Regions from separate parts of the Homo sapiens genome. Here all the other regions are linked to region 1. The links are contacts of gene promoters, found by promoter capture Hi-C in human tissues and cell types (Jung and others, 2019). All regions are on one chromosome and are shown on one strand. The core of a region is centred on a gene start or on the middle of the fragment in contact, and the rest is flanking DNA. Distances in the headings are between cores, read along the strand shown.

Region 1 (7,487 bases), core at 3,721-6,220:
CATGTGTACACATATGTACATATATAAAAACAGTTGATGTTTTGGTGTATGGGGTAAAAGCCCCAGGAGCATACAGAACTTGAGCTGAACCTGGTCAGTAGAAAGGGAAACCCCAACCCTTTCTTGATTTTTGGAGACACCCAGGACTAATGGATACTGTAGTAGACATGTAGTACTATAGTACCGTAATATTCATCTCTCCTCATTTTAGTTGCCTTTCAGATTCTAAATGTTTGGGATCATTCCTATCATCTTAGTCTCTTCAGGATCTTTAGTATTTTCCTGGTTCTGAGGAGGCTTGAGACAGGGTTATGGATTTCCTTGTTCTGTGTCTTTATCCCTACTGATAGTTCCTCTTTCTCATTTTGCAAACTACCCAGAGCTCCAAGGACAGCCTGAAGATCTCAGTGCCTCAGGCTCTGAGGTACTCTGCTCACAGGCCCCAGACAGATGCTGTTGGGTAAACTCAAAGCTTCCTATGAGAAGCTTCTGAGATGTAGCAGGTCACAGAAGTGTTCACCTGTTTCATCTGAGGATTTCAGTTCTGAAGTGATCTAGGCATGTTTGGTAAAAATGTTTTTGTGAGAGTTCTTTTTTTAAGAAAGCATTATGCAAAAAGTCACTTTTAAGGGCATTTAAAAATTTTTAAGTAAAGCCATTCTTTGGCTTTTTTGGACTATTTGTGGATACTTTGTTTACATTTTGAATATTAAAATGTGCATCATCTTGTCGGCCATGCAGTCCTGCAGGCATCAGTGCCCTGGCTGTCCTGTGAGTCCTCATGCAGAGCAGGGCCATCATGGTCAGCCCTTGTGAGTAAGTGGGTATACGCTGAAGCTGACTTCCGTCTGTGTCCTGCCCTCCCATCCAGCACTCTCTATGGAAATAGTTGTCATTTCCTCAGTGATGGTGTGTCTTATAGTGATGGTTGTAATGGTGAATGGCTAGTGTCATTTTGTTTAATTTTGTTTTGCTTTTTGATGGTGGATAAGATGAAATTTTAGCTGTTTCAGCATCAATCCAACTTAAAAGCATCTTGGACTTTGTTTTCCCTTCCAAACTAAAAGATCAAGGCATGTATTAGACACAAGCATATTTGCTGCCTCAACTCCTCTGACACCCATATTAGGAAAAGGCCTGCCACCAAAGCAGGAAGCTGCACACTCCTAACCCTTCTCCCAGGGTGTGGGGTCCCTTGACGTCATGAAGAGCTATTGCAAGGTGCTTCTGTACTTTTCCAGCCTGGAAATGGAGGGTGACTGGCCCTGGCTCCTGCTATGAGAAGATAACCAGCCTCATTTTCTCAGTGCCCCAGAGGTCTAGGATAGGATTTCTAAACTGGAATCATCCTTAATCACCTTGAAGATCCCTTAAGAGGCATTTGACTGGTGCTGCCGTCTGTGTCCTCAAAGCAATGCTGGTGGCAGCGTCCTGTGTACACATGCAGAGCTAATACCCAAACTAAAAACTGGGTAACTGGCCCTGAAGTGCTTCCCAATCAGTAAGCCCACAGGGAAATGTTTGATTTTTATGTTCTGTTGGATTTTGGTTTGCTTGGCATATCTAAAGGTGCCTTTACTTTTCTTTTTTTTTTTTTTTCTTTCTGCTTTGTTTTGTAGGACTTGTTCTAACATGGAAAACAAGTCCAGAAGACTCTCCTCTGACTGTTACCTTTGCCCCAAGCCACCCCAAACTTTTATGCTCATGTTTTATTAAAGCAGGTGCTCCCTGGAATCTCTGGGACATTTTTGAGGCATTTGAAGCAGAATATAGAGTGGTCTCATCTCCTTCCTTAATCTTCCTGGTGGTTGGGATGTTCCACTTGTATCATAGATTTTTTTATTACAGATATGCTCCACTGTTTTTAAATGTGAACTTGTGCGCAAATGTGCAGATTCAATGTTCTTGTTACAGATTGAATAAATTTTTATTTTGAAGATGAAACGTGTACTTCATCAGATGCAACAAAGGAGGGAGGTGCTGGAGAAGGTGGGAGAGTCAGAAGAGGAAACACAGTGAACACCAGTAGTTTTCAATGATTGATCCCAGTCATGTCACCCTGAAGAGAGAGCTGAGTCCCCAGAAATAAATGAAACACCTCAGCCCACTGAAAAATGTCTAGAAATGGGACATGAACATCATGAGATATTTAGTGGTGCCATTCATCACATACAAGGCAGGACTACCATCTAGGGAGAGCTCAGTTTCCAGTTCCCAATTGCTAACAAAATTTGAAGTCCCCGCCCCCCTCAAAAAAAAAAATCACTGCCTTGAACTAAAGTCAGCCTGCTTCATTCTGAATCATCCATATCAAGTGGGAGGGGCACAGTGCTGGTCTTTAGCTGGAGTGCATGACGGTGAAGGTAAGGTCTTTCACAAAATATTCTAAGGATCCCTGGGATCCCTGACCAATCTAGATAAGTTCAGTCTTGGTTTTCTAGCCAAAGCAGATGGACCAAATCATGGCTAAGTTGCGAGCTACCTCATCCAGAAAATGGCTTCCTAAAAGATGAAATCCATGGCTGTCTTCTATGGATTGCCGTTCAGAGCTAACAGTTCAAAAGGGAGGCACGAAGCCCAAGTAGCTTCTCTCCCTGATTGGTTCTTCCTGCCTTAACTCTGCCCACTCACAGCTCTGTCAGGCCTTGGCAGCCAGAAGAAGGCTAGAGGGCAGGGCTGAGCTACGCCAGGCCCAAGCAAATATCTGAATCCCTGTACCCAGAAAGCACTGCTCTTCCTAGATGATGGAACTGAAGGGAGCACGCATTGAAGGATTCCTGCTTCCTAGTCCCAAGCGCTTCCCTCTAGAAGGGAGTCTCCTGTTCTCTTTAAAGAGAAGGAGGGTGGGGGTAGGGGAGATGCCACTTCAGAGGAGGCAGCACATAAAATCCCTACTCTGCTAAGGAGTGGTGCAGAGTTGGAAAGAATCTGACCCAATCCTGTTCAGAGAGCTGTAAAAATATGGCGATTGAGCCAGGACTGGAACCAGTTTTTTAATTCATTCCAGGCATCCTTTCCTCTGTGCCACACAGTATAAACTCTCAGTTACGTTTTAGCTCAGCACTTGTGAGATAAAGTGGCACTGTCCTTCAGGGAGAGACAGAAATGCATGCTGCTGAAAAGCAAGAACCAGATGCCAGACCACGTGGGTAAGAATCATAGCTACATCAACTACCAGTTGAGGTTGTGATGGGTAAGCCACCTAACCTCTTTGTGGCTCCATTTCCTCAACTGTTAAATAGGGATAACAACAGTACCCACCTTAGAGGATTGTTTTTTGGTTTTTTGTGCGTGTGTTTTATTTGAGACAGAGTCTCATTCTGTCACCCAGGCTGGAGGGCAGTGGCATGATCTCAGCTCACTGCAACCTCTGCCTCCTAGGTTCAAGCAATTCTCGTGTCTCAGCCTCCTGAGTAGCTGGGATTACAGGTGTGCATCACCACACCTGGCAAATTTTTGTATTTTTAGTAGAGATGGGGTTTTGCCATGTTGGCCAGGCTGGTCTCGAACTCCTGACCTCAGGTGATCCACCTGCCTCAGCCTCCCAAAGTGCTGGGATTACAGGCGTTAGCCACCCGCGACCAGCCTAGAGGATTGTTAAGAGTATGAAATTAATACGTATAAAGCCCTTAGTGCCAGTGCCTAGCACATAAGCATGGGTTATTGTTGTAAAGGAGCAACTGAGTCACTCAGGTATTTTCCTCCTAATCATGTGCCTGGAATCTTTAGGTAAAAGAGAGATGACTCACATACCCTCATACCCTGCCCCAGCACCCCTACGCCAGGAGTTATTTCTGGAGCACTCGTAACAGTTTTTTATTCTGTTCCCCTACAAGCCACTGACTCTTGATTTGATTCTGTCCCTACAAGCCACCTGGACTCTTCCTGAGAAACAAAGGAGCCTCGTGGGCCCTTCATGGTTTCTACCACCTTCCCTCCCTTTCCTCCCCAGTGCTGGTTCCTGCCCTTCAGAAGGCTGTGTTCCATTCACTCACTCCCAGGTGTGCCCTGGAGGGTGGGAAGTAATAACTGGCCCCAGATGCCCTTATGATCCAAGGGAAGAAATCCAGGCAATGTGCAGACACTGGGTAGACTGGAGCTACGGGACTGGCTGGTCTTCACTGGCTGTATTTTGATCAGGTTATCTTTAATCTCCTTGACCTCGGTCAACATTCAGTTCTGTGAATATTGGGGGAGACGGGGGAAGCTTACCTGGAACACAGTCGGGCGCCAATTCAAACAAGGCCCAGAAAACATTAGGAGTCTGGCCTCTGAGTTGGCTTCTCTGACCCCTAAAATGTGACTAGAGACCGGTGCTAGCCTCTTCCCCCTGCATCTGGGAGGGGAGGGAGTGTCAAGGTGGGTTCACTTTACACTCGGTCCTCCCCTTGTTCTTTCAGCTGCTTCCTGCCCTGCTCCATGGAATCTCATCTAATGGGGTGAAATGCCTAGCACACAGCCAGCATTTTAGGTTTCTCAAATGATCGCTATTGCCATTCATAACAATAACTAACATTCACAACCCTGTGTCGGGTGCCCTCTCACTTGCCCTACATCAGGATCAGCCTGGGTCCTCATTCTCTAGGGCCTCTTTCCCCCAGGGAGGCCTGGAAGTGCAGTCCCGCAGTCCCGGCCGATCGGGACAGCTAAATTGGGAGCGCGATTGAGGCTGGAATGCGGGTGGAGGCACCTGGTCTCCCTCGGCTGCCCGCTCTAGGGGCGCACGCCCCCTCGCCCGTTCCCTCTCCAAGCGTCCTGCTCTAGGTCTGCGAACCCGAGCCTCCCCAGCCTACCCGGGAGTCATGGAGGGAGGGAAGCAGCGTGCGCACCTAGCACACAGCTGCACATTTATTTTCGATGGTTCTCCGAGGCCGGCGGAAGCTGGGAGGGGAGTCGGGGTCGCTCGACTTTCCCGCCGCTGGAGGGGGCGGGGCAACTTGGGCTCTGGCCCCGCCCCTATGCTAGCCCCGCCCTCTTAGGTTGATGGCAGCGGCAGCTGGGGCTGCAGCGGCGCCGGGCTCTAGAGAGCCGCAGGATCGGCCAGAGTGCGGAGCTGGACACCCGGGTCCCAGATACTACAGACACCCGGAGAGGTGGCTCCTTCGCCCTGAAGCCTTCCTCGGCCCCCTACGCACTCGGGCCCCTTCCGCAGAGGATTCGCAGCGTGAGCGCCCCGCAGCCCGCTCAGGACCAGGTACCCAGCCCCCCACACCCGGCCGTCACCGCAGCCAGCGGAGCGGGCGGGGTCCCTGAGGGGCAGAGGTCTGCGCCTCCTCCCCCCGCGCCGCCAAATTCGGTTTCGGGCGGGGAGGACGTGGTGTCTATATTTGGCCGGACAGCAGCCAGCGCTCCCGGAGGGCGCAGACACCTCGTCTCGCAAGAACGCAGTGTCAGGGCAGCAGGCTGAAGAAGGGTGCAGGGAGGCCGGGCCTCAGGCTCGGGGCCGCAGACGCGCCTTGAAGGGCACACGGATGCTGGGGCTGGGGTGGGGCAGGAGCCACTGGCTGGGGCTTTGGGAGTGCTCAGTGTGTCCTCTAGGGAGACCCTAGCTGGAGAAAAGGCACCTCACCCTCCCCACCCCTGCAAATCTGGCTTGGCCGTGGCGGGGGCAGGGGTGGAGGATGGGGTTGAAGACCCCACCCCTAGAAGAGTTCACTAGGAAGAAGGCCCAACCAGGGCAGAGGACCCAGAGGAGAAACCGGACAAGCCTATGGTAGGCAAAAGCCAGAAGACCATGATCAGGGCTTCCTGGAGAAGCCAGTGCAGAAAGGAGTGGGAGAAGAGGGATCCACCTCACTCTGTGCTGCCACCCGTCCCCCCACAAGGCATGGGATGAAAACAGTAGCAGAAAGGACTCAGATTGGTGGACAGGAGGAACTTCCCCCTTGGCAAAATTTTAGGAAAAGGCAAAACCCCATCTGCCTGAACTATTCCAGAGATGCGAGTTCGGTATCCTGTGGTGGCTGCAGTCTTGGCCCCATACCTGGCTTTAAGCCAAGATCCAATGGTCAAGTCTTCTGCTTCTGGACAGGGTGCCTCTGGGAGCTACAACCACGTCCGTGAAGAGATGCTCATCAAGGCTGGCGGTGGTGGGGGCGGGGGGTGCAGGCAGTGTGGCATTGAGGCTCCTCCCAAAAACATTCCAACGTCCAGAAAGCTTTCAGTCTGTTAGGCTCCACAATCCCCTCAGCCTGGGTCTCTGTGGAGAATTCAGGCCCCAAATCCTAGCCACTTACATTAAACAGCATTTTACACAGCAAAATAACTTTCCCATACTTTGACCACCTTGAAGAAAGCTCCCTGCTTCTAGGACCAGACACTATATGGATTTATACCTGACTCCTGACCACATAACCCTTCTCATCAGCCACCCCTCCACTCCTCCTCCCTCCCGCAGCTCACAGGACTAAGGACCAAAGGCATTTCTGGGCACTGAGATCCTACCTCTCTGCCTGCAGCTATGAGCAGACGTGTGGTTCGGCAAAGCAAGTTCCGCCATGTGTTTGGGCAGGCAGCAAAGGCCGACCAGGCCTACGAGGACATCCGTGTGTCCAAGGTCACATGGGACAGCTCCTTCTGTGCCGTCAACCCCAAATTCCTGGCCATTATTGTGGAGGCTGGAGGCGGGGGTGCCTTCATCGTCCTGCCTCTGGCCAAGGTGAGGGATCAGGGAAAGGAAGCAAGTGGGAGGACACTAGCTGGGGCCCCTGGGAACTCCTGAGCCTTTGTTCTCACCTAGTTCCATTCCATAGTCAGGAGAAGCATCTGTGTGGATTGGCTCCTCCCTATTCCCCAAGCCCTCAAGGACCAGAGGGGAGGCCACCCCACCCCACCCTAACATCAGGGTGGCTTACTCCCACTCCCTAGCCCTCCCACCTCTCCATGCACCACCCCATTCCCAGCAGGGACCAGGAGGGGAGCCGGGTGATGGAGATGGTTGGGACACAGCACAGCCAAGCCTGGCCAGATTCCATCACTGCCTCTCCTAATGCCGCATCCCCTCATGTTTTGGGTGTGGAGAACCTCCTCCCTAGCCCAAGATGACCATTTGATTAAGTCACATCCCAGAGCAGCAAACTGAGGACAGGGTCAGGCTCTATCCAAAGAGTCCCTGGTTACCTCCAAGGACACTTGCAGTGAAGTAGAAAGAAAGGGAACGGAAAGGAAGGGGGACATGACACATAAAGCCAGAGCCCTCCCTACCCTCAGGATGGGGACCAGGCAATGACTACCACGTTAGCTTCATAACCTTAAGCCCCTTGACCATCCACATCCCAAGGATGACTCTCCCCCAACCCCCAAGGTATGACCTTGACCTGGATTCTGGCCCCTACACCTTGTTAGGGTAGGCTCCACAGGTGGCGGGGTCAGGAAGAGGCCTGAAAAAGCCAGTGACTCACCCCAGACAATGCAGACATCATCCTGGGACACAGCCCCAGGGCTCAAATTTCAGCCGGAGCTGCCTCCTCCCCCAATATGTCTGCTCT
Region 2 (7,487 bases), core at 2,099-4,598, 220 kb before region 1:
ATAACACATTTCAAAACTGTATTGTTTTTTACAGATTTGATTGTTTTCTATAATTTTACTTGACTTGATCTCTTCCAACAGGTAGCTGTCACCAAAACTAGGTTCTACAAACCTTGACCATAAAAAATGAATTGTCTGTATCAGGATATTTATTGCTCATAGTAGCACTCCATACATATTGTTGAAGTTTCACTAATGTAAACTATCTCTTGAAGTAAGATGTGTCTCAAGTATATCACCATATTACTACCTGCACTTAGGCTGGCTTCCTCATCTTCATGTCACAGTGAATGCAGTTACCATTTCAGGACCTCATTCACGTATTTATTTACACAACTGCATTTCATTCAGTGTTGATGAATCTGGAATGGCATGAGTTAAGTTATTGTGATTCATTAATAGCTGGAGTGGTGCTCATTTTCCTAGTGCTTGCAAACGTTAACTGATAAATCCATGTGAACACTTATTATCAGTATTTTGCAGATGACAAACTGAGGGTGAAAGGTTATAATCTTTGTCCAGTGTTGTGTGATAAGCAGGAGCAGTGCTGACATGAAATCTCAGCTGATAGCCATCATGAGCTCATCACCAGTGGGCAACCTCATTGATGGAATATGTACCAGTCTCCTTATATGGTATCCTATAAGATTTATTTTGTTCAGACTGGGCACAGTGGCTCATGCCTGTAATCCCAGCTCTTTGGGAGGCTGAGGTGTGCAGATCACTTGAGGTCAAGTGTTTGAGAAAGCCTGGCCAACATGGTGAAACCCCGTCTCTACTAAAAATACAAAAGTCTGGCGTGGTGGTGCATGCCTGTAGTCCCAGCTACTTGGGAGGCCAAGGCAGGAGAATTGCTTGAACCCAGAAGGTGGAGGTTGCAGTGAGCCAAGATTGCACCACTGCACTCCAGCCTGGGCAACAGAGCAAGACTCCATCTCAAAAAAAAAAAAAAAATTGTTCAGTTTGCAGTGGAGTCCTCTGGACTTATTATACTGGCATATTATTTCGACTGATTTTGTCTCAAAGAGACTAGTGCATGGGAATCTACATGAAGAATATTTTCATGAAGTTGGACGCGTGGGGAAAAGGTAACTTTAGTTTTAATGGTTTTTCTCCCTTAGAAACAATTAGTTGGGGCCAGGCACGGTGGGTCATGCCTGTAATCCCAACACTTTCGGAGGCCAAGGCAAAAGGATCACTTGAGCCCAGGAGTTCAAGAGCAGCCTGGGAAATACAGCGAGACCCTGTCTCTACAGAAAATAAAACAATTAGCCGGGCATGGTGGCACATACTTGTAGTCCTAGCTACTTGGGAGGCTAAGGCGGAAGGATATGCCATTGCACTCCAGCCTGGACAGCAGAGTCAGACTCTGTCTCCAAAAAAAATAAAGAGAAACAATTAGTTGGGTATATGTATTTATAGATTACTCTGGGTTGCTTTATTTTATTGCCAAGCCTTTCATTCATTTAAGTCAGATTTGTTGTCGTCTTTTCCTCAAGAGGCAAAAGTTGTTTCATGTACTTGGCTGGCTTTTTAAAGGTGTTAGATCCTCCTCCTGTTTTGTTTTTTCAGGGAGTATTTCCCACACCTTTTTTTCCCCCTTTTCTCACTTCCCTGTTCCCACCCCCATGTCAAATGGAATTGAAGAGCTTCTTTGTAATTTGAAGCCTTAACCTTGGGGGTGGGGTGGGGGGCAGTTATTTGCAGAGCAAAATGATTGAAATCTCCATTACTTAGTTTTCTGCAAAGGAAGTGGTATGGGATCTTGATAAGTATTTGAAGTAGAAATACTGATGTAAAGAAGAAGAGTAGAAGATAAAGTCAATCGTCGAAGAACTTTCTCTTCAATTTTGGGATAACAGAAGTATGAACTTTGGTTAGTTTTATTCATTCATTTGCTTCTGCATAATTCATTCATTCACCAAGTATTGATTGACTCATGTGCAAATCACTGGGCCCAGGGGAGTAGGGGCCCTTAGAGAAAGTATAATCTACACTTCACAAATTAGTTTTATGGCTATTCGTGGAAAGCCCTGAAAAGGAAAGGAGAAAATCATTACATGCAGTATGTGGGAAGAAGAGAAGAAATCTGGATAAGTGGAAATAAATTTGGCTGGAGGCCAATTTGGCTGGAGGGCTGGCTGCCTTAGATCTCTTGGGGCTTTCCTGGAAGAGAAGGCAGGAGTGCAGAGAGGCCCCTGCCCCTTTTCTGATCCCACTCAGTCTCCAGGAAACCAGATAATAGATAGAAGCAGCTACTTGCTCCCTCTACTGTGCACAGGTTTGTTAGAGGTCTCCATAATGGGGAGAGGATCTGTCTGCCCCCAGAGAAAGGTAACAGTGTGACTGGAAGAAGTCACAGAGAAAGAAGATACTGGCTTTAGCTGCAGGAGTTTCACCTTGGCTTCAGATAAGAAGGAATGTAGGCAGTGACTAGAGCAGGTTGGGATGCTAGTGACTGCAACAGGCACTGAGACTCCTGAGGCTTCTCTTCATTTCCCTCTCCTGTACCCACTGCTATCCTACCTAAAAGGAGGAAGAAGCTCTGGATGAGCTGGGATTCCAATTATTGTGCTTATGGGTGGTCTCCTAGGAACAACTGGATTCATTTACCATTGTAGGGCTATTTCTTCCCCAGCCTGGTGGTCAGGAAAATATTTGTTATATTAGTTTATTTCCTAAAAATAAAACTTATTTATCTCATTTCCCTGGTCTTCTCACCCCAACCCCTACCCAACCAAACAGGCAGAAGGTCATATATAGAATAGTCATACTATTTTTATGGTCTGTTTCATTCCTTTGCTTGGTTTGTTATATTCTTGAAGGATATAATATTATATTCTGTGCAATCAGAAAAAAGCTTTTATGTTTGAATAGCCCAGTGAAAGGAAGAGATGTTAGCCTTTTGTGTTATTAAAGAAAAGAAAAAGCCACCCCCTAGAATCAAATGTGGAAAAGGCAGATGCAAAGAAAGTCTAAAATGTAAGAATTATTTGGTTTAGAATATTTTTACATTTTTAGACTATAGATCTGCATTCTCTTCTAGGGAAGGACAGTGTCTCAGAATACAATATCCTTGTTGATAATCAGCTTCTATGGGATTTTTAACATGGAGTCATTTGGGGAGTGGAAAAATGGCTTGAGAGAGAGAGAAGATTTAGCCTAATAGTAAGTTCAAGATGAAGGATTTAAGAATTTTTAAAAGTTATCAACATTAGGGTAAACCCTAATTCAAGGCCTGATGTGGAGTAGCCAGTCCTTATAGATTGAAGATAGAAAGGACTTCAATTCTCAGGGTTCTTCTGAGATATCCTGTTCTTGTATGTTTTAAGTTTTGGAATGTAGTGTATTGGAACGATGAAAACAATGGTTAGCTCAGAAAGGAAAACTACACTTAGGAGGGGGAAACTGCTATAGTAATTTTTTTTTTTTTTTCTTGAGACTGAGTCTCCCTCTGTCACCCAGGCTGGAGTGCAGTGGCACGATCTCAGTTCACTGCAGCCTCTACCTCCTGGATTCAAGCGATTCTCATGCCTCAGTCTCTTGAGTAGCTGGGACTACAGGCATGCACCACCCATGCCTGGCTAATTTTTTTTATTTTTAACAATTATTTTTTATTTGTAGTGGAGATGGGGTTTCGCCATATTGGCCAGGCTGGTCTCGAACTCCTGACCTTAAGTGATCTGCCCACCTCAGCCTCCCAAAGTGTTGGAATTACAAGTGTGAGCCACCGCGCCCAGCCTGCTATAGTAATTAAATCTACTTTTGTAAATCTCTAGAGATTATAAGCAAAAACAAGATAGTAGTGGATGAACATCCAGATACAACAACAAACTGGTTAGCTGGAAGGTGGGGATGGTGTTTAAGCCTACAGCAAGCACGTCCTGTCATTCCTGATAATTTGTATTTACTCTCTTCGTTTCTGCTATCTGTACCATGTGTATTTTCTGTTTATTTTTTCAGACTCATTTGCAGAACACCTTTCAGTAGCCAACATACACAAATAGAAAAAGGGGGGAAAAAGGGAAATTTGGTGCTAAGAAGATGAGTTTTATTATGAGTTTCAAATGGCCAGTTGGCCAATAGCAAACAGCTGCCCCACAGGAGTTTAGGATTACTTGAATTGTTTCTGCATCACCTCTGCTGCATTGTAGAGAGATTGTTAGGGCCCATCGTCAGAAAAAAGATAAAAAAAGTGTTGCTAGTGGCAAACATAGTTTTACCATGAACAATATCCTTATTTTTTACTTTGGAAGGGGTCTGATGCAAATTTACACTAATAGGAATGTGATGTTAAACTTATTTTGTTCCAGGTTAAGATGTAAGAAAGCATAGCTCAATGATTTTATCCCAGAATAATTATTATGAGAAATAATTTTCTTTTAAAAATCTTACGCTCTTGAGTGACATTTGAGGAGAAATAAGATTTGTAGTAATCTTGGGTACAAAGGCTATTTTTGAAATTAGCCTTATTTAACTCAGTGGTTCTCATTGTGGCTGCCCATTAGAATCACCTGATGATCTTTTTTTTTTTTTTTTTTGACACTGAGTCTCACTCTGTCGCCCAGGCTGGAGTGCAGTGGCGTGATCTCGGCTCACTGCAACCTGCGCCTCCCAGGTTCAAGAGATGCTCCTGCCTCAGCCTCCCAAGTATCTGGGATTATAGGTGCCTGCCATGACACTCAGCTAATTTTTGTATTTTTAGTAGAGACAGGGTTTCGTCATGTTAGCCAGGCTGGTCTTGAACTCCTGACCTCAGGTGACCCACCTGCCTCGGCCTCCCAGAGTGCTGGGGTTATAGGCATGAGCCACTGCGCCTGGCTGTGATGATCTTTTAAATTAATAACAGGGTCTCCTCCAGTTAAATCAGGATCTCTGTGAGTAGGGCCCAGGTATTGGTATTTTTTTAAATGCTTCCAGGATTATTCTAATATGAATCAAGGGTTAAGAACACTGGTTTGGGCTGGGGACAGTGGTGCACACCTGTAATCCCAGCACTTTGGGAGGCTGAGGCGGGAGGATCGCTTAAGCTCAGGAATTCAAGACCAGCCTGGGCAACAAAGCAAAACTCTGTCTCTACAAAAAAAAAAAAAAAAAAAAAATTAGCCAAGGGGGTGGTGTACTCCTATAGTCCCAGCTACTCGGGAAGCAGAGATGGGACGATCACTTGAGCCCAGAAGGTTGAGGCTGTAGTGAGCCAGGACTATGCCACTGCACTCCAGCCTGGGTGACAGAATGAGACCCTGTCTCAAGAAAAGAAAAAACAGAAAAAGAACACTGGTTTAACTCTAGCTATGCTAATTTTTGCACCTCCATATTAGAAATCTAATCTGCAACATTTGTAACATTGTAACATCTATTCCTTGAGCAGCAGGATAAAATGTGAGATAGACTACAATTTTTTAAGAGTTGGCTGTATGCATTTGATTACTCAGGTACAACACAATTAACTTACATTCTTTCTATTCAGTGAAATTCCTTGGCTAGTCTTCTGTTAAAAGCAAGATACTGAAATGAGATAATCCAAATCTAGTATAAATTTAAGTCAGTGAAGGGTAAAGTTTTCCATGTCTTTTCCATAAGGTATAAAGGGTATAAAGACTTATTCTTCCTGTGTCAACATTGCTAGGGAGCTAGAGTAAAGAAAAAATAATTAAAGATCACTTTATACTTTGTGTTTTATACTTTTACTGAAGTAAAATATACATACAGAAAAGTGTACTTATCTTGTGCTTTTATGTATAACAATGAATTTTCACAAACTGATGTTTTCACAAACACAGGTCAATCATGAAGTAAGTAACCTGTACCTAGATCAGGAAATGGAATATTACAACTCCTCAGTACTATTTCCCCCTTTGCCAATCCCTCCTTGCTCCTTTCAGTCACTACTGACTCACCCTCCCAGCCATCATACACCAGGAATAACCACTTTCCTGACTTCTTGACCATGTGATTTTGATGTGGCTATCAGGCTATGCTTTTTAGAGGGCTCTCTCAGACTTTCAGAATCAGAGAGAGGGCTCAGCATCATGTAGTAGTTAAAGAGCTCAAGTTGAAGGTTCAGACAATCTGGGTCAGAGCCCAGCTTCACCACTTACTGACTGTGACTTCACTCTAAGCCTCATTTCCCCTATCTATAAAATGGGAATAATAATAGTACCTATCCCATGGAGTTGTTAGAATTAAATGAGATAACTTATGTAAAGTGCTTAGAGGGCCTGGCGCATTATCTGTGCCAAGTAGAGAGCAGGGCAGATGCAGGATTCCCTCATGTCACCAGCTCTTCAACAGAGTCAAGGCAGTGCCACTGTTGTCTGCAGACATAATGAAGTTCATACTTCAGCTCTGGAGAAAAAGAAGAAGAAAAAGTGGGCATCCTGACCATCTTCCATTTTCTTCACCATCCCTAATTTGGCTTGTGGCTTGGCTAACTTGTGACAACTTCTAAAATATATTATTTAAGTACATGAAATGGCTATTGAAAGGCCAAAAATATTCTCTTAGACATCTTTATATTATCAATAGCTCTTAGCACAGTGATTTAATTGTAAATTGCACATAGTTGATGCCTTGGCTAAAGGAATCTAAAATGATACTTCAGACACACCATGCTCTCCTGTGCTGGATTTGTATTGGTCTAGGCTCCTGATCCCTCTTTTTACCAGAGTTGTATTTTTGAAACATCTGGCATGTTTCAAAGAATGCAGAAAGTGGCAGTGAAACAATTTGTAGGCAGAAACAAGGAGCCTCGGCCAAATTTGCAAAATTAACCAAATAAAAGCTCCAACTAGTTGAGTTATCTTGCTTCCATAATCTGAGGCAGGTCCTGCTGAGGTATATTTTCCTCTTATTTTGGTTTGGGAGAGCAAGCAAAACAGGAGGAGTTGTAGGTTTTCTCAGATTTTTAAGATTATAGCTTGGGAAAAATTTACCCTTTGGAAAGGGTGGGGTGAGGGGAAGGACCCCTTACTATGAGTACTTACCATGTGACACCCATTGTACTAAATGCTTTTTATACAGTTTAGTGTTGAATCCAAGTCTTTGAGGCAAATACTTTTAGTAGTCCCTGTTTAAAGGTGAGGAACCAGGCTTGCTTAAGGTATGTGACCATGCTGGTAGTGACAGCTAAGTCTGCCTGACACTCCCAGCCGGTGCTCTTTAACTTATGCTGGATTGCCTTTGCCCTTGAATGTAATGTTGTTATTCTGGTGCTAGGAGGTCAGGGTCAAATGCAGTAGTGATTCTCAACTCTAGTTTTATACAAGAATAATCTATAGAGTTTATTTTAAAAATATAGAAACTTAAGTCTCACTTTAGGAAGTTTCTTGTTCAGTAGGTCTTAAATGAGACCTGACATATTTCTTCTTCACAAAGGTCCATAGGTGATTGTGTGCCAGAGTTGAAAATCACAATTCTCAGAAATTCACTAGTGGGGAATTATAAGATTACAGATTTGGGGGCATCTGAAGACTGAATTTGGAATA
Region 3 (7,487 bases), core at 3,042-5,541, 220 kb after region 1:
AAAAGAGACTGCAAAGGGGCCTAGGAAATTTTGGGGGGAAGTAAAAATTACTCTATTATTAAAGTGATTGTTACAGCCACTGATCTGTACATTAAAAATTTGTGAAATTATTGCAAATAAATTAAAGCTTGGTAAAATTGATTGAAAAAACGTTATGGGCCAGGCGCAGTGGCTCATGCCTGTAATCTCAACAGTTTGGGAGGCCAAAGCAAGCGGATCACTCGAGGTCAGGAGTTTGAGACCTGCCTGGGCAACACGGCGAAACCCCATCTCTAAAAAATTAGCCAGGTGTGGTGGCACACTCCTGTAGTCCCATCTACTTGGGAGGCTGAGGTGAGAGGATAGCTTGAGCCCCGGAGGCAGACGTTGGGGTGTGCTGAGATTGCGCCACTGCACTCCAGCCCTGGGGGACACAGCAAGATCCTGTGTCTCAAAAAAAAAAAAAAAAAACCTTATGGCCAGGTGCAGTGGCACACACCTGTAATACCACCACTTTGGGAGGCTGAGGCAGGAGTATCACTTGAGCTCAGGAGTTTGAGACCAGCCTAGGCAATATGGCAAGGCTAGGGAAGGATCAAGTCTGACTCATTTCTGTATCCTGGCACAGAATCTAGAAAATCTCTACAAAAAATCAAAACATTGGTCAGGAATGAATGGCAGCATGCTCCTGCAGTTCCAGCTATTTGGGAGGCTGAGGCAAGAGGATCACTTAAGCCCAAGAGTTCGAGGCTGCAGCGCATGCCACTGCACTCCAGCAGCCTGGGTGACAGAGCCAGACTCTGCCTCAGAAACAAAACTAAACAAAACATGTTATTAACATTGAAATAGGTAGGTAAATAAGGAGAAACTTTTGCAAAAGATTAAGAAGATGAGTTCAATTTAGATATGTTCACCCCAACGTGTCTTCAAAAAGAGTAAGATACCTCAGTTGGGCATTGTGGCTCATGCCTGTAATCCCAGCACTTTGGGAGGCCAAGGCAGGCGGACTGCTTGAGCCCAGGAGTTCGAGACCAGCCTGGGGAACATGACGAAACCCCATCTCTACAAAAAATAAAAAAATTAGCCAGGTGTAATGGTGGGCACCTGTAGTCCCAGGTACTAGGGAGGCTGAGGGGGGAGGATCACCTGAACTTGGGGAGGTCAAGGTTGCAGTGAGCCATGATTGTGCCCCTGCACTCCAGCCTGGGTGACAGAGTGAGACTCTGTCTCAAAAAAATATAAAAATAAAAAAAGATTATCTCCGTCAGGCAATTGGGTATAAAGGATGGAGTTAGGGAGGCAGCAGGAAGAGAGGGAGACAGAGAAGAGCATTGTGTTGAGAGACACCTACTGTTAAAAGCAGTAAGAAAGAACAACCAGTAAAATACAAATTTTAAGAAGGAAGACAGTCAGACATGGTGTCTCATGCCTGTAATCCCAGCACTTTGGGAGGCCAAAGCAGGAGAGTGGCTTAAGGCCAGGAGTTCAAGACCAGCCTACACAACACAGCAAGTCCCCATTCCTGTATGTGCCTATAGTCAGTCCTAGTTCCTCAGGAGGCTAAGATGGGAAGATCACTTGAGCCCAGGAGTTCAAGACTGAAGTGAGCTATGATGGCACCACTACCCTCCTGCCTGGGCAAAAGAGCAAGACCCTGTATCTAAAAAAAGAAAGAACTGTAAGAGGTACTAGGAATGTTCTCTATCTTGTTCTTTGTGATGGTTACATGAACATACACATCTGTAAAAATTCAACAGGCTTACACTTCATATTTATGCACTTTGCTGCATTAATTATACCTCAAACAGTTTTAAAAAAAGAAAAATGGCTAAGCATGGTAGCTCACACCTGTAATGCCAGTACTTTGGGAGGCCGAGGTGTGAGGATCACTTTAGCCCGGGAGTTCAAGACCAGCCTAGGCAACATGGAGAAACCCTGTCACTACAAAAATTAGCTGGCCATGGTGGTGTATGCCAGTAGTCTCCCAGCTGCTTAGTTGGGGGGGTGGGTAGTGCACTCCTGTGGTCTCAGCTGCTTGGGAACCTGAGGTGGGAGGACTGCTTGGGCCAGGGAGGTCAAGCAAGGCTACAGTGAGCCGTGATTGTGCCATTGCACTTCAGTCTGGGCAAAACAGTGAGATCCAGTCTCAAAAAAGAAAAAAGAAAAGAAAAAAGATATGGCCCAAAAGTACCTTTTCAGCTTCATTTTACCAAATACCCATCCCAAATCACATAAATAACCTATAGCCACATATGATCAGTAATCACCCTCTTCAATATTGATCATTCATGCTCTCAGGTATATAATACCCTTTGTACTTTTATTTTTTTTTCAAGACCCATATAAAATCTCACTCCCTCAGGAGTCACTACTCCTAAACACCCCTTAACTCTACCTGTATAACAGTTAAATAAATGGTTCTCAATCAGGTGATTTTGCTCCCTAGGGGACATTTGGTAATACCTGAAACATTTTTTGATCATCACAACCAGGGGTGACGCTACTGGCATCTAATGGGTAAAAGCCAGTGATGCTGCAAAATATGCTATAATGCATAGCACAGATCCCCCCAACAATGAATTATCCTACCCAAAATGTCAATACTACCACGGTTGGGAAACCCTGCACTACACTATTGTATGTATTTACTTGCAAGCCTGTATCCCTACTAAACTACAAAATGGGAGGGATCAAGTCTTACTGATTTCTGTATACTGGCACAGTATCTACAAAATAACACACCAAAAAAATGTATTAATAAATACAGATGTGTCATTACTGAACCTATTTTAATAACCACACTGCCTAGAATGCTGCACTCAAAAAATATAAGAAATACGTATGTCATTGCTGAATCTTACTTTGATATGAAAGCTACATAACTTACTGGCTAAACTGGTTGTCTTTTTTTTTCTGAGATGGAGTCTCACTCTGTCTCACAGGCTGGAGTAGAGAGGTTCGATGTCGGCTCACTGCAAACTCCGCCTCCCAGGTTCAAGCAATTCTCCTACCTCTGCCTCCCGAGTAGCTGGGATTACAGGCGAGAGCCACCACACCCAGCTAATTTTTGCATTTTTAGTAGAGACGGGGTTTCACCATATTGGCCAGGCTGGTCTCAAACTCCTGACCTCAGGTGATCCGCCCACCTCGGCCTCCCAAAATGCTGGGATTACAGGCATGAGCCACCACTCCTGGCCTAAACTTGTGGTCTTTAAAAGCAAATTCCATCAATCACTATCTTGACTTGGTGTTTTCATAGTACATACCAACAAATTACAAATTATAACTATGTGAATATCTCAAAAGAGTATTAAACTGAAATTTATTTCCAAATTTACTGCAGCATGAGTAAACCAACTGGCTTAATGACTGTGCTCTGAAAGCATTTTTAAAAGGACACTGTTTCAGCAGGGCAAGGTGGCTCACGCCTGTAATCCCAGCACTCTGGGAGGCCAAGGCGGGTGTATCACCTGAGGTCACGAGTTTGAGACTAGCCTGACCAACATGGTGAAACCCCATCTCTACTAAAAATATATATATACAAAAATAAGCTGGGCCTGGTGGCACATGCCTGTAATCTCAGCTACTTGGGAGGCTGAGGCAGGAGAATCACTTGAACCTGGGAGGTGGAGGTTGCGGTGAGCCGAGATCATGCCATTGCGCTCCAGCCTGGGCAACAAGAGCAAAACTCCATCTCAAAACAAAGGACACTGTTTCAAAAATTTTTTGAACTCATATCATAGTGCCATTTGAATAAAATAGAGTAAAATAATGGATACTAAAATCTTGGCTATCATTCCACCTAACTTGAATCTAATAAAATTTATGTTAAAATACAGAATGGTAGTGTATTTTAACATATTGTCAAAAAATTAAACAGTTTTTACTTACCTATTTATTTATTTAGACACAGGGTCTCACTGTTGCCCAAGCTGGAATGCAGTAGCACAACCATGGCTCACTGTAACTCCATCCTCCTAGGTTCCAGCAATCCTCCTGCCTCAGCCTCCTGAGTAGCTGGGACCACAGGCACATGCCACCGTACTTGGCTAATTTTTTATTTTTAGTAGAGATGAGGCCTTACTATGTTGCCAGGCTGGTCTTGAGTTCCTGGGCTCAAGCGATCCCCTTGTCTCAGTCTCCCAAAGTGCTGGGATTACAGGCGGAAGATATCATGCCTAGCCAAAAGTTTTTATATCATAGTTATTTTACTTATTTTAGCAAATATTTCAGGCCAGGTGTGGTGGCTCATGCCTGTAATCCTGACACCTTGGGAGATTGAGCTGGGTGGATCACTTGAGTCCAGCAATCCAAGACCAGCCTGGGCAACACGGTGAAGCCGTCTCTACTAAAAATACAAAAAATTCGCTGGGTGTGGTAGCACAGGGCTGTAGTCCTAGCTACTTGTGGGGCTGAGGCAGGAGGATCACTTGAGCCCAGGAGGTCAAGACTGCAGTGAGCTGTGATCCTACCACTGCACTCCAGTCTGGAGTCCTACAACAGGTTCTTAAAAGAGTAAGACCCTGTCTCAAAAACAAAACAAAACAAAACAAAATCCCCCCCCACACACACACAGAAATATTTCATATCTCAACACTGTTTTATTTTTTACATGCCCAGCCAACTTTTTTATTCTTGATTAAAGATTAATGGCATTATTTTATAGAACTAGACATTCACACATAAAACACAAAAATACTTTTTCACTACCTAAGCTGAAGATAAAATGATCTTTTAATTACTCCATTTTCAAATTATTTGTACTTTTCTAGAGAATTAAAAAATCATTATCACTAATAACGACATGTCAAAGTAAAGAATCTAGGCCAGGCATGGTGGCTCACACCTGTAATCCCAGCACTTTGGGAGGCTGACGTATGAGGACTGCTTCGGTGTAAGAGGTCAGGGCTGCAGTGAGCTGTGATTGTGCCACTACACTCCAGCCTGGGTGACAGAGCAAGACCCTGTCTGAAAAGAAACACAAAAAACAAAAAAGAATCTGAAAGTGAGCACATTATATTGCCCCTCTGGGACTCAAAACTCTAATTCCAGTAAATAAAACCAACTGAAATACCATACTCCTATCAAGTAATGAGCCCTATAAAACATCATCATCATCTACCATTTATGCAGCAGGAGATTACTTAAATACTATATATTAAATAAAACAACATATACTATACAAAGTTTCTGTACAACAAGGAAGAGCAAAGTTTCCTTATCAAGTACAATCAAGGATATGGATGGTTTTGGCAAAAAGACAAAGCTTTTCCAATTTTCAGTAACCCTAAATTCCCCAAGTCTAAAAACGGAAAAACCTTGACCTTGTTTAGTAATGCTGTTCATCAACCTTTTCTGAAACCTCTTTCTCAGCCTCAATGGGAATAAATTGTAACAAATCAATCCAAAATACAAACTAGAGGTTTGTAACTACTACCATGAGTGAATTAAAAACATCAACTAAAACATAAATATTATGGTTAGATGTAACACATTGCAGCACACTGATTTTTTTTTTTTTTTTTTTTTTTTTGAGACAAAATCTTGCCCTGTCACCCAGGCTGGAGTGCAATGGCACAATCTTGGCTCACTGCAACCTCCACCTCCCAGGTTGAAGCAGTTCTCCTGCCTCAGGCTCCCTAGTAGCTGGGATTGCAGGTGCCCGCCACCATGCACGGCTAATTTTGTTTTTTTTTTTTTGAGACTAAGTTTTGCTCTGTCTTGATCTCTTGACCTTGTGATCTGCCCACTTCGGCCTCCCAAAGTGCTGGGCTTACAGGCGTAAGCCACTGCGCCGGGCCTAATTTTTTTGTATTTTTAGTAGAGACAGGGTTTCAGCATGTTGGCCAGGCTGGTTTTGAACTCGTGACCTCAAGTGATCCACCCACCTCGGCCTCCCAAAGTGCTAGGATTAAAGACATGACCCATCACGTCTGGCCTGGCATTTTTAAAATATACTTAATATACTTAATTAGTCACATAATAATTTTATGAACAGACGTATTTCAATTAAATCAAATCTATATATGTCCCCAAATAAAATAAAAATAAAAGATATTTTCTTAATATCCTCCAAATAAAAAGTTTTCAACCAGGCATGGTGGCTCACACCTGTAATCCCAGCACTTTCGGAGGCTGAGGCAGGCAGATTGCTTGAGCTCAGGAGTTCGAGACCAGCTTGGGCAATGTGACAAAACCTAATCTCTACAAAAAATACAAAAGAATTAGTCAGGTATGGTGGCGCATGACTGTAGTCTCAGCTACTTGGTAGGCTGAGGTAAAAGGATCACCTGAGCCCGGGAAGTAGAGGCACAGTGAGCCATCATTGTGTGCCACTGGACTCTAGCATAGGGAAGGGGACTGAGACCGTCTTAAAAAAATTAAATAGAAAGTCTTCTTTTTTTAAAATTCTGCAATTCATGAGAAACTGCACTCACACATAGTGTGTGACATTAGATATCTGATAACACGTTCCTTAATACAAAAACCTCAGAAGTTACCATGATTATCCAAAACTACTGGTACCCTGCCCAGGACCTTTTAGGCAAAGTCCTTGCTATCTCCTAAGCTTTGAAACCTAGGAAAGGTAAATATACCCAATATAACGACTAAATAGACTACAGATGAATCAGTAGAGATTGAAGGAGAGTTGTTGAAAGAAAAAGGAAAAAGCAAACTAAAACAAGCATACTTCAGAGACAGAAGATTAGAAGTAAAAGGGATGAGGTAAAAAAAGAAATTTTAGTTCAGGCACAGTGGCTCACGCTTATAATTCTAGCACTTTGGGAGGCCAAGGTGGGCAGATCACCTGAGGCCAGGAGTCAAGACCAGCCTGGCCAACATGGCGAAACCCCGTCTCAAACAAAAAGAACAAAAAGTACAAAAATTAGCCAGGCGTGGTGGCACAGCTACTCAGGAGGCTGAGGTGGGAGGATTGCTTGAGCCCAAGAGGCAGAGGTTTCAGCAAGCCATGATCACCCCACTGCACTCCAGCCTCCCAACAGAGTAAAACCCTGTCTCAAAAAAAAAAAGAGAAGAAAAAGAAAGTGATATGGTTTGGCTCTGTGTCCCTACCCAAATCTCATGTTAAATTGTAATCTCCAAAGTTGGGGGAGGGACCTGGTGGAAATGATTGGATCATTGGGGTGGATTTCCCCCTTGCTGTTCTAGTTGATAGTGAGTTCTCAAGAGCTACTGTTGTTGGAAAGTGGAAAGTTTGTAGCACTTCCCCCTTCACTCGCTTGCGTGTCCACACACATGCACACTCTCCCTCTCTCTCCTGCCAACCATGGGAAAATATGCCCACTTCCACTTCCGCTATGATTGTAAGTTTTCTGAAGCCTCCCCAGATGCAGATGCCTGTATAGCCCACAGAACCGTGAGCACATTAAACCTATTTTCTTTATAAATTACCCAGTCTCAGGTATGTCTTTATAACAGTGTAACTGGGTACCCAGAACATATAAAAATGTGGCAAACTGCTGAGCACAATAGCTTACACCTGTAAT
Region 4 (7,487 bases), core at 2,829-5,328, 170 kb before region 1:
AACAGGCCTGGTAAGTTCTAGATGGTCATTTCAATGTTACCAAACTTGTATCCTCTGAACTCAAATGAGCCATTCTAGATGATACAGAGAAAGGATCAATAAGCATGCTCATTGTGAAGAAGCTGGCTAAAGGGAATGCTGCTTTAATAATTATCAGGCCGGGCGCGGTGGCTCACGCCTGTAATCCCAGCACTTTGGGAAGCCGAGGCAGGCGGATCACGAGGTCAGGAGATCAAGACCATCCTGGCTAACACGGTGAAACCCTGTCTCCACTAAATACAAAAAATAAGCTGGGCATGGTGGCGGGTGCCTGTAGTCCCAGCTACTCAGGAGGCTGAGGCAGGAGAATGGCGTGAACACGGGAGGCGGAGCTTGCAGTGAGCCGAGATCGCGCCACTGCACTCCAGCTTGGGCTACAGAGCGAGACTCCGTCTCAAAAACAAGAACAAACAAAAAATAATAAAAATTATTATTATTATTATCAGGTGTTTGTTGATATATACCTCCTTCTTGTAAACTACAACTTAATATAAAAATAGTTCCTTTTCATCAGTAACTGAGATTATCGGTAGTTTTTTTCCTGATTTGTTAACACATAAATTGTGGGCTTAAGGCTTAATTTCTCGTGTCTCTTAGCAAAGAGAAGTGTCCTTCTTTTGCATAGGGCTAAGGAGGTAGAAACCAAAAATAAATTTTAGCTGAATGTGTACCAGAGGCATCGTAATCATATTCCCATTAGAATGAAAAAATAATTCTTATATTTTCTAGAAGGTCAGATTTAAAGCTCTCTGAGTCAATTTCAAGCTTTATATATTGACTCAATATCCACTGGAATAATGTTGTTCCAAAAAATTACCTAATGATGAGGCAATGGAAGTCATTCTCTTATTCACAGTACTGAATTGTCAAGCCATTAAGAACTATAAAGGCCAGGCGCGGTGGCTCACACCTGTAATCCCAGCACTTTGGTAGGCCAAGAGTCTGAGAACAGCCTGGCCAACCTGGTAAAACCCCATCTTTAATAAAAATACAAAAAAAAATTAGCCAGGCATGGTGGTGCATGCCTGTAATCCCAGCTACTCAGGAGGCTGAGGCAGAAAAATCACTTGAACCCAGGAGGTGGAGGTTGCAGTGAGCAGAGACCACACAACTGCACTCCAGTCTGGGCAACAAAGTGAGACTCTGTCTTACTAAAAAAAAAAAAAAAAAAAAGAGGAAGAAGAAGAATCATAAAGACCTGTTTTTAAGTTTTTGGCAATACTTTGTCACTTTGACCAGCAGAGGGTTTTTGCAGGCTTCTTCTATTCACAAGAGGATTACTTATAAAAATAAGAAATGAAAAAAACCTAGTAGCAACTATTAAAAAATCAAAATTTGCTAATCTGTTATAATGTCTTACATTTAGTGTGTTTGCCAAGCTATTTCTAAATCTAAAGGCTTTAGTCCGACTCGAAGCAAAGAAACTTATCTTACCTGCCAGTTGAATGCCCCTTGTAGCTATACGGTATGTAAGAGATTGATTTTTGTATGTTTGACTGCTACAGATTGTTCAGAGTTCTCCATCACTCACCACAGAATAAACCAGCATTGAATCATTTCATTAAGCATGCCTGAACTCATCTTGTCAGTTTGTGGGTTCAAATGTAGCTTGTAGTAGGAAATTAAATAGTAAACAGCATATCATTAAAACTAAAGGCCAGTTCCAGGTAACAAAGAAGACATTGCATTAATAATCTGTTATTTTTGCCAGGGGCAGTGGCTCATGCCTGTAATCCCAGCATTTTGGGAGGCTGAGGCAGACGGATCACATGAGGTCAGGAGTTCAAGAGCAACCTGGCCAACATGGTGAAACCCCATCTCTGCTAAAAATACAAAAAATTAGCCGGGTGTGGTGGTGCATGCCTGTAGTCCAGCTACTCAGGTGTCTGAGGCAGGAGAATTGGTTGAATCCTGGAGGTGGAGGTTGCAGTGAGCCGAGATCAAGCCACTGCACGCCAGCCTGGGCAGCAGAGCAAGACTCCGTCTCAAAAATTAATAATAATAATAATAATAAATCTTAACCAAATGCCATTTATTGACAAAGTCATAAAAATAATCTTTCAGACCAGGTGCAGTGGCTCACACCTGTAATCCCAGCACTTTGGGAGGCCATGTGGGTGGATCACCTGAGGTCAGGAGTTTGAGACCAGCCTGGCCAACATGGCGAAATCCTGTCTCTACTAAAAATACAAAAATTAGCTGGGTGTGGTGGCATGAGCCTGTAATCCCAGCTACTCAGGAGGCTGAGGCAGGAGAATCACTGGAACTCGGGAGGCAGAGGTTGCAGTGAGCTGAGATTGCGCCACTGCAATCCAGCCTGGGCAATAGAGCAAGACTCTGTCTCAAAAAAAAAAAAAAAAATCTTTCAGTACAATTAGACCAAACTATGATGGCTTTGTTCACAGATAACAACCATAACTACAAAAATAGATAAATTAGACTACATCAAAATTTCAAACTTCTGTGCATCAAAAGACACTATCAACAGAGTGAAAAGGCAACCCATGGAACAGAAGAAAATATTTGCAAATCATAAGGGGTTAAATCCAGAATGTGGATATAAAGAACTACAGCTCAATAAAAACAAAACCCTAGTCAGTCCACTATAACAAAATACCTAGACTGGGTGGCTGAAACAACAGACATTTATTTCTCACAGTCCTGGAGGCTGGGAAATCTAAGATCAAGGTGCCAGAATGTTCATGTGAGGGTGTTCTTCCGGGCTTGCAGACAGCCACCTTCTCTCAGTGTTCTTACTTGGTGGGGAGAAAGAAAGAGAGAGCACGTTCTGGTCTCTTCCTATTCTTTTAAGGACACGTCATGGGGGGCTCACCATCATGACCTCATCTAACCCTAACTACCTCCCAAAGGCCTCGCCTCACTTTCGAGGGTAGGGCTTCAACATATGAATTAGCAGGGGGCACAAGCATTAAGTCCATAATATTTTGCCCGGGAACCCACAAAATTCATGTTCTCATACACAAAATATATTCATTCCATCTCAACATCTTTAAAAGACAAAACATTCCAGCATCAGTTCTGAAGCCTAAAGTCCAAAGTTTTATATCATCTAAATCAGATACAAGTAAGACCAGGAATGATTCATTCTGAGCCAACATTCCTCTCCAGCTGTGAACCTGTGAAACCAGGTAAATTAAGCACTTCCAAAATACCATGGTGAGGTAAGCATAGGATAGATTTCCTATCTCAAAAGGTAGAAATCAGAAGGAAAGTAGGACTGATAGGTCCCAAATAAGTTTAAAACTTAGCAAGGCAAATCCCCTTAGGTCTTAAGACTTGAAAATAATCCTTCTTGGTTTGATGCTCTGCTCTCCAGATGCACTTGAGTGGCAGCGTCACCCTCATTGCTTCATGTGGTGGCCCTGCCCCTTCAGCTCAGTGGAGTGCCATCCACAGGGCTCTCTGCAAGAGCCCTGCCCACACAACTCTGCTTGCCAGTGGTCCTAGCCTTTGAAACTGAAGTGAAGACAGCCTGCTCCCTGATCGCCACCCATGGTGGGTGTGATGAGAGTAGAAGCCCTGATGATCATCACTGAATTGCCTTTGGGGGGATCCTTCTTCCCCTTTCTTGAAGGATAATGCGTAGTCACAGTCTTCCTTTATTCCATTTCATTTTCTCTGTTTCCCTTAGTCCTAGCTGGCAGTATTTCTGTTTGCATAATCCCTTCTCTATCCTGGCTTCTATTGAGATGGCTGATTAGGCCTGTGGTTCACACCAACACTACCCTCCTTATATGGTCAGTCAGCCACACTGTTGGTGTTCCCTTCCAAACATGCTTTCTCATTTTTTGCAATATGCACAGGCAGAGAATGTTCCAAGTAAGTTCTGGTTCCCTTTTGCTTAACTATTCCTTCTGCAATTCATTTCTCTCTTTTTGCATTTTATTATAGCAGCCAGAAGGAGCCAAACCACTCCTTCACCACTTTGCTTAGAAACCACTGTAGTTGAATGTCCAATTCCACTGTTGCAAGTTCTACCTTCCACAAAATACTAGAACACAAACACAATCCAGCCCAAGTTCTTTGCCACTTTATAACAAGGATTGCCTTTTCTCCATTGTCCACTAACATGTTTCTTGTTTCCATCTGAGCCTTCGTCAGAAAGGGCTTTTCCATCCATATTTCTACAAATATTCTGTTCGTGGTTCTTTATGTATTCTCTAAGAAGATGGAAGCATTTTCTCCAGATCTCCTCTATCCTTTCTGAGCACTCACCAGAATTGCCTTTAGCAATCCCTTCATGGCAATCTTGGCTTTTTCTAGCATGCACTTCAAAACTCTTCTACCCATTACCTGGTTTCAAAGCCTCAGCACCCCATTTCTCAGGACCAATATCTGTATTAGTCAGGGTTCTTTAGAGAAATAGAACCAAAAAGGGTATCTCATAGAGATAGATAGATATATATAGAGAGAGGGAGAGAGGGAGGGAGGAAGGGAGGAAGGGAGGAAGGGAGGGAGAGAGTGAGGGAAAGAAAGAAAAAAGAGAGAGAAAGAAAGAAAGAAAAGAAAGAAATTGATTCTAAGTAAATGGTTTACATTATTGAGGCTGAGAAGTCCCAAGATCTGTAGGCTGGAAACCCAGGAGAACTAATGGTATAGTTCCAGTCCAAGTCCAAAGGCTTAAAGAACTAGGAGAGCCAATGGTGGCTCAGTCCACCATTTGCTGAGTCCAAGTCTGAGTCCGAAAATAGAAGACCAATGTCCTTGCTCAAAGGCAGAAGGAGGAACTTCTCCCTTATTCAGCCTTTTGTTCTATTCAGGCCTTCAATAGATTGAGTGAGGACTACCCACACTGGAGAGGACAGTCTGCTTTACCCAGTCTACTGATTCAAAGGTTAATATTATCCAGAAACACCCTCACAGATAAGCCGAGAATAATATTTAACCAAATACTGGACATCCTGTGACCCAGTCAGGTTGATGGTTGACACATAAAATTAACCATCATACAACCCAATTAAAAAATAAGCAAAGAACTTGAATAGACATTTCTCCAAAGAAGATAAACAAATAAGCAATAAGCATATGAAAAGATGCTCAAGGCCGAATGCAGTGACTCATGCCTGTAATTCCAGCACTTGGGAGGCTGAGAAGGAAGGATTGCTTGAGCCCAGGAGTTTGAGACCAGCCTGGGAAACATGGCAAGACCCCATCTCTACAAAAGATAAAAAAATTTAGCCAGGTGTGGTGTCACACACCTGTCCCAGCTACTCAGAATGTTGAGGTGGGAAGACTGCTTGAGTCCAGGAATTAAAGGCTGTGGTGAGCTAAGAAGGTTCCACTGCACTCCAGCCTGGGTAACAGTACAAGACCCTGTCTCTTAAAAAAAAAAAAAAAATCAAAATCACTAATCATTAAGGAAATGCAAATTGAAACCACGGTGAGATACTACCTCATACCCATTAGGATGGCCACTATCAACATAAAGCGTTGGTGAGGATATGGAGAAATTGGAAGCCTTGTGCACTATTGGTGGGAATGTAAAATGGCATAGCTGCAATGGAAAATAGTATGGTGATTCTTCAAAAAATTAAAAATAGAATATGATCATATGATCCAGCAATTCCACTTCTGGACTCCTGGGTAGATACCTAAAAGAATTGAAAGCAGGGTCTTAAGAGATTCATACACCCGTGTTCATAGCAACATTATTCACAATAGCCAAGAGATGGAAGCAACCCAAGTGTTCATCAACGATGAATGGATAAACAAAATGAGGTATTATATGTACAGTGGAATATTGTTCAGCCTTTAAAAAGGAAATAAGTTCTGACATGCCACAACGTGGGTAAAAATGAGGACATTAAGCTAAGTGAAATAAGCCAATCACAAAAAGTCAAATACTGTATGATTCCACTTACATGAGATACCTAGAATAATCAAATTCATGCGGACAGAATAATGGTGACTGGGGGATGGATGGAGTGGGAAGTTATTGCCTAGTGGGTACGGAGCTTCAGTTTTGGAAGATGAAAAAAGTTCTAGAAATGGATAGTGGTGGTGGTTGCACAACATTGTGAACGTACTTAATGCCAGTGAACTGTACACTTAAAAGTAGTTAAGATGGAAATTTTTATGTTTATTTTACCACAATTAAGAAACAATGTATTTATGCCATACTAGCCCCTTTTTGTGATTGATTGATTGAGACAGGGTCTTGCTCTGCCACACAGGCGGGAGTGCAGCGATACAGTAATGGGCTCAGTCCCACTTGAGCCTCCCAAGTAGCTGAGACCACCGGCATGCACCACTATGCCCAGCTAATATTTTCTGTTATTTTTGTAGAGACAGGGTCTCCCTATGTTGCCTAGGCTGGTCTCAAACTGCTGGGCTCAAGTGATCCTCCTGCCTCAGCCTCCCAAAGTGCTGGGATTACAAGTGTGAGCCACCATGGCTGGCCACCTTTTTGTGATATTTGAACTCCAGCAATATTTTTTTTTTCTCAGAAGACAGGCATAAAAAGATAACATAATTACAGAAAATCAGGTTTTATATCATTGACTATTGTTGCAGTACTTTTCCTTAGTTCAGCTAAAGACAGAGTTATTGTCCCATGGCAACAAAAATTTAGGCTCACAGATGATTGAAGGGTGAGAATAATGGGATTTATGGGGCAAAAAGGAAAACAAAGGGGGAACAGGGACTTTCTGCAAGGCTAGAATTCCTGCTGGTTCCTTCCTGCCTTGCAGTTTGAATCCCAGGTTTCACAAAGGAAGAGGAGGGGCCAGGCTCCTCCCCATGCAAATTGTGCGAACTTCCCGAAGCTCCACCTCAGTATGCAGGCTGGCTGGAGTTTTGCCAGGGAACCTTTCCAACCTGTTTGTCTCACTATTTGGTCAAAAGATAAATGGATGAAATTTGATGCCAGTATTTCCTTTGCATATTTATGAACTCAACTTTTTCTTGTGTGATGACCCACTTTGCTGACCGGGGAATAGCCAGGAAAATAACTATAGAAGTAAACAGGGCCGGGCGCGGCGGCTCACGCCTGTAATCCCAGCACTTTGGGAGGCCGAGGCGGGTGGATCACCAGGTCAGGAGATCAAGACCATCCTGGCTGACACGGTGAAACCCGGTCTCTACTAAAAATACAAAAAACTAGCCGGGCGTGATGGCGGGCGCCTGTAATCCCAGCTACTGGGGAGGCTGAGGCAGGAGAATGGTGTGAACCCAGGAGGCAGAGCTTGCAGTGAGCCGAGATCGCGCCACTGCACTCCAGCCTGGGCTACACAGGCAGACTCCGTCTAAAAAAAAAAAAAAAAAAGTAAACGGACTGGGCGCGGTGACTCGCGCCTGCAATCCCAGCACTTTGAGAAGCCGAGGTGGGTGGATCTCGAGGTCACGAGTTCGAGACCAGCCTGGTCAACATGGCAAAACCCCCATCCCTACTAAAAATACAAAAATTAGTTGAGCGTGATGGCACGCTC

Evidence for each region. The method cuts DNA at HindIII sites, captures the fragments that hold promoters and counts their contacts. A contact is called where the count stands out against the background at its distance.
Region 2: a contact is called between a fragment that was not itself captured here and the fragment with the promoter of CORO6 in region 1, in 2 of the 25 tissues and cell types used here (dorsolateral prefrontal cortex and hippocampus).
Region 3: a contact is called between a fragment that was not itself captured here and the fragment with the promoter of CORO6 in region 1, in 1 of the 25 tissues and cell types used here (dorsolateral prefrontal cortex).
Region 4: a contact is called between a fragment that was not itself captured here and the fragment with the promoter of CORO6 in region 1, in 8 of the 25 tissues and cell types used here (H1 embryonic stem cells, bladder, dorsolateral prefrontal cortex and 5 more).

What each region holds. Positions count from the first base shown.
Region 1 is chr17:29,620,395-29,627,881 of GRCh38, reverse strand. CORO6 (coronin 6) reads left to right here and starts at 4,970. Exons shown (of 11, transcript NM_032854.4): 1 at 4,970-5,194; 2 at 6,398-6,658. The coding sequence starts at 6,461. It overlaps SSH2 (slingshot protein phosphatase 2), which reads left to right. Exons shown (of 16, transcript NM_001282129.2): 16 at 1-1,944. RefSeq lists enhancers at 3,170-4,369, 7,277-7,487 and a silencer at 5,157-5,306. The HindIII fragment of the contact is 11,130 bases long and covers 2,348-7,487 here.
Region 2 is chr17:29,839,508-29,846,994 of GRCh38, reverse strand. The region is part of intron 2 of SSH2 (slingshot protein phosphatase 2); the gene reads left to right. Among named protein-coding and RNA genes, the nearest start is that of SSH2, 87 kb to the left of the region's middle. The HindIII fragment of the contact is 4,094 bases long and covers 1,302-5,395 here.
Region 3 is chr17:29,401,186-29,408,672 of GRCh38, reverse strand. All of the region lies in intron 1 of TAOK1 (TAO kinase 1), which reads right to left. Among named protein-coding and RNA genes, the nearest start is that of MIR4523, 14 kb to the right of the region's middle. RefSeq lists enhancers at 1-420, 7,246-7,315. The HindIII fragment of the contact is 3,210 bases long and covers 2,687-5,896 here.
Region 4 is chr17:29,785,643-29,793,129 of GRCh38, reverse strand. All of the region lies in intron 3 of SSH2 (slingshot protein phosphatase 2), which reads left to right. Among named protein-coding and RNA genes, the nearest start is that of SSH2, 140 kb to the left of the region's middle. The HindIII fragment of the contact is 9,040 bases long and covers 1-7,487 here.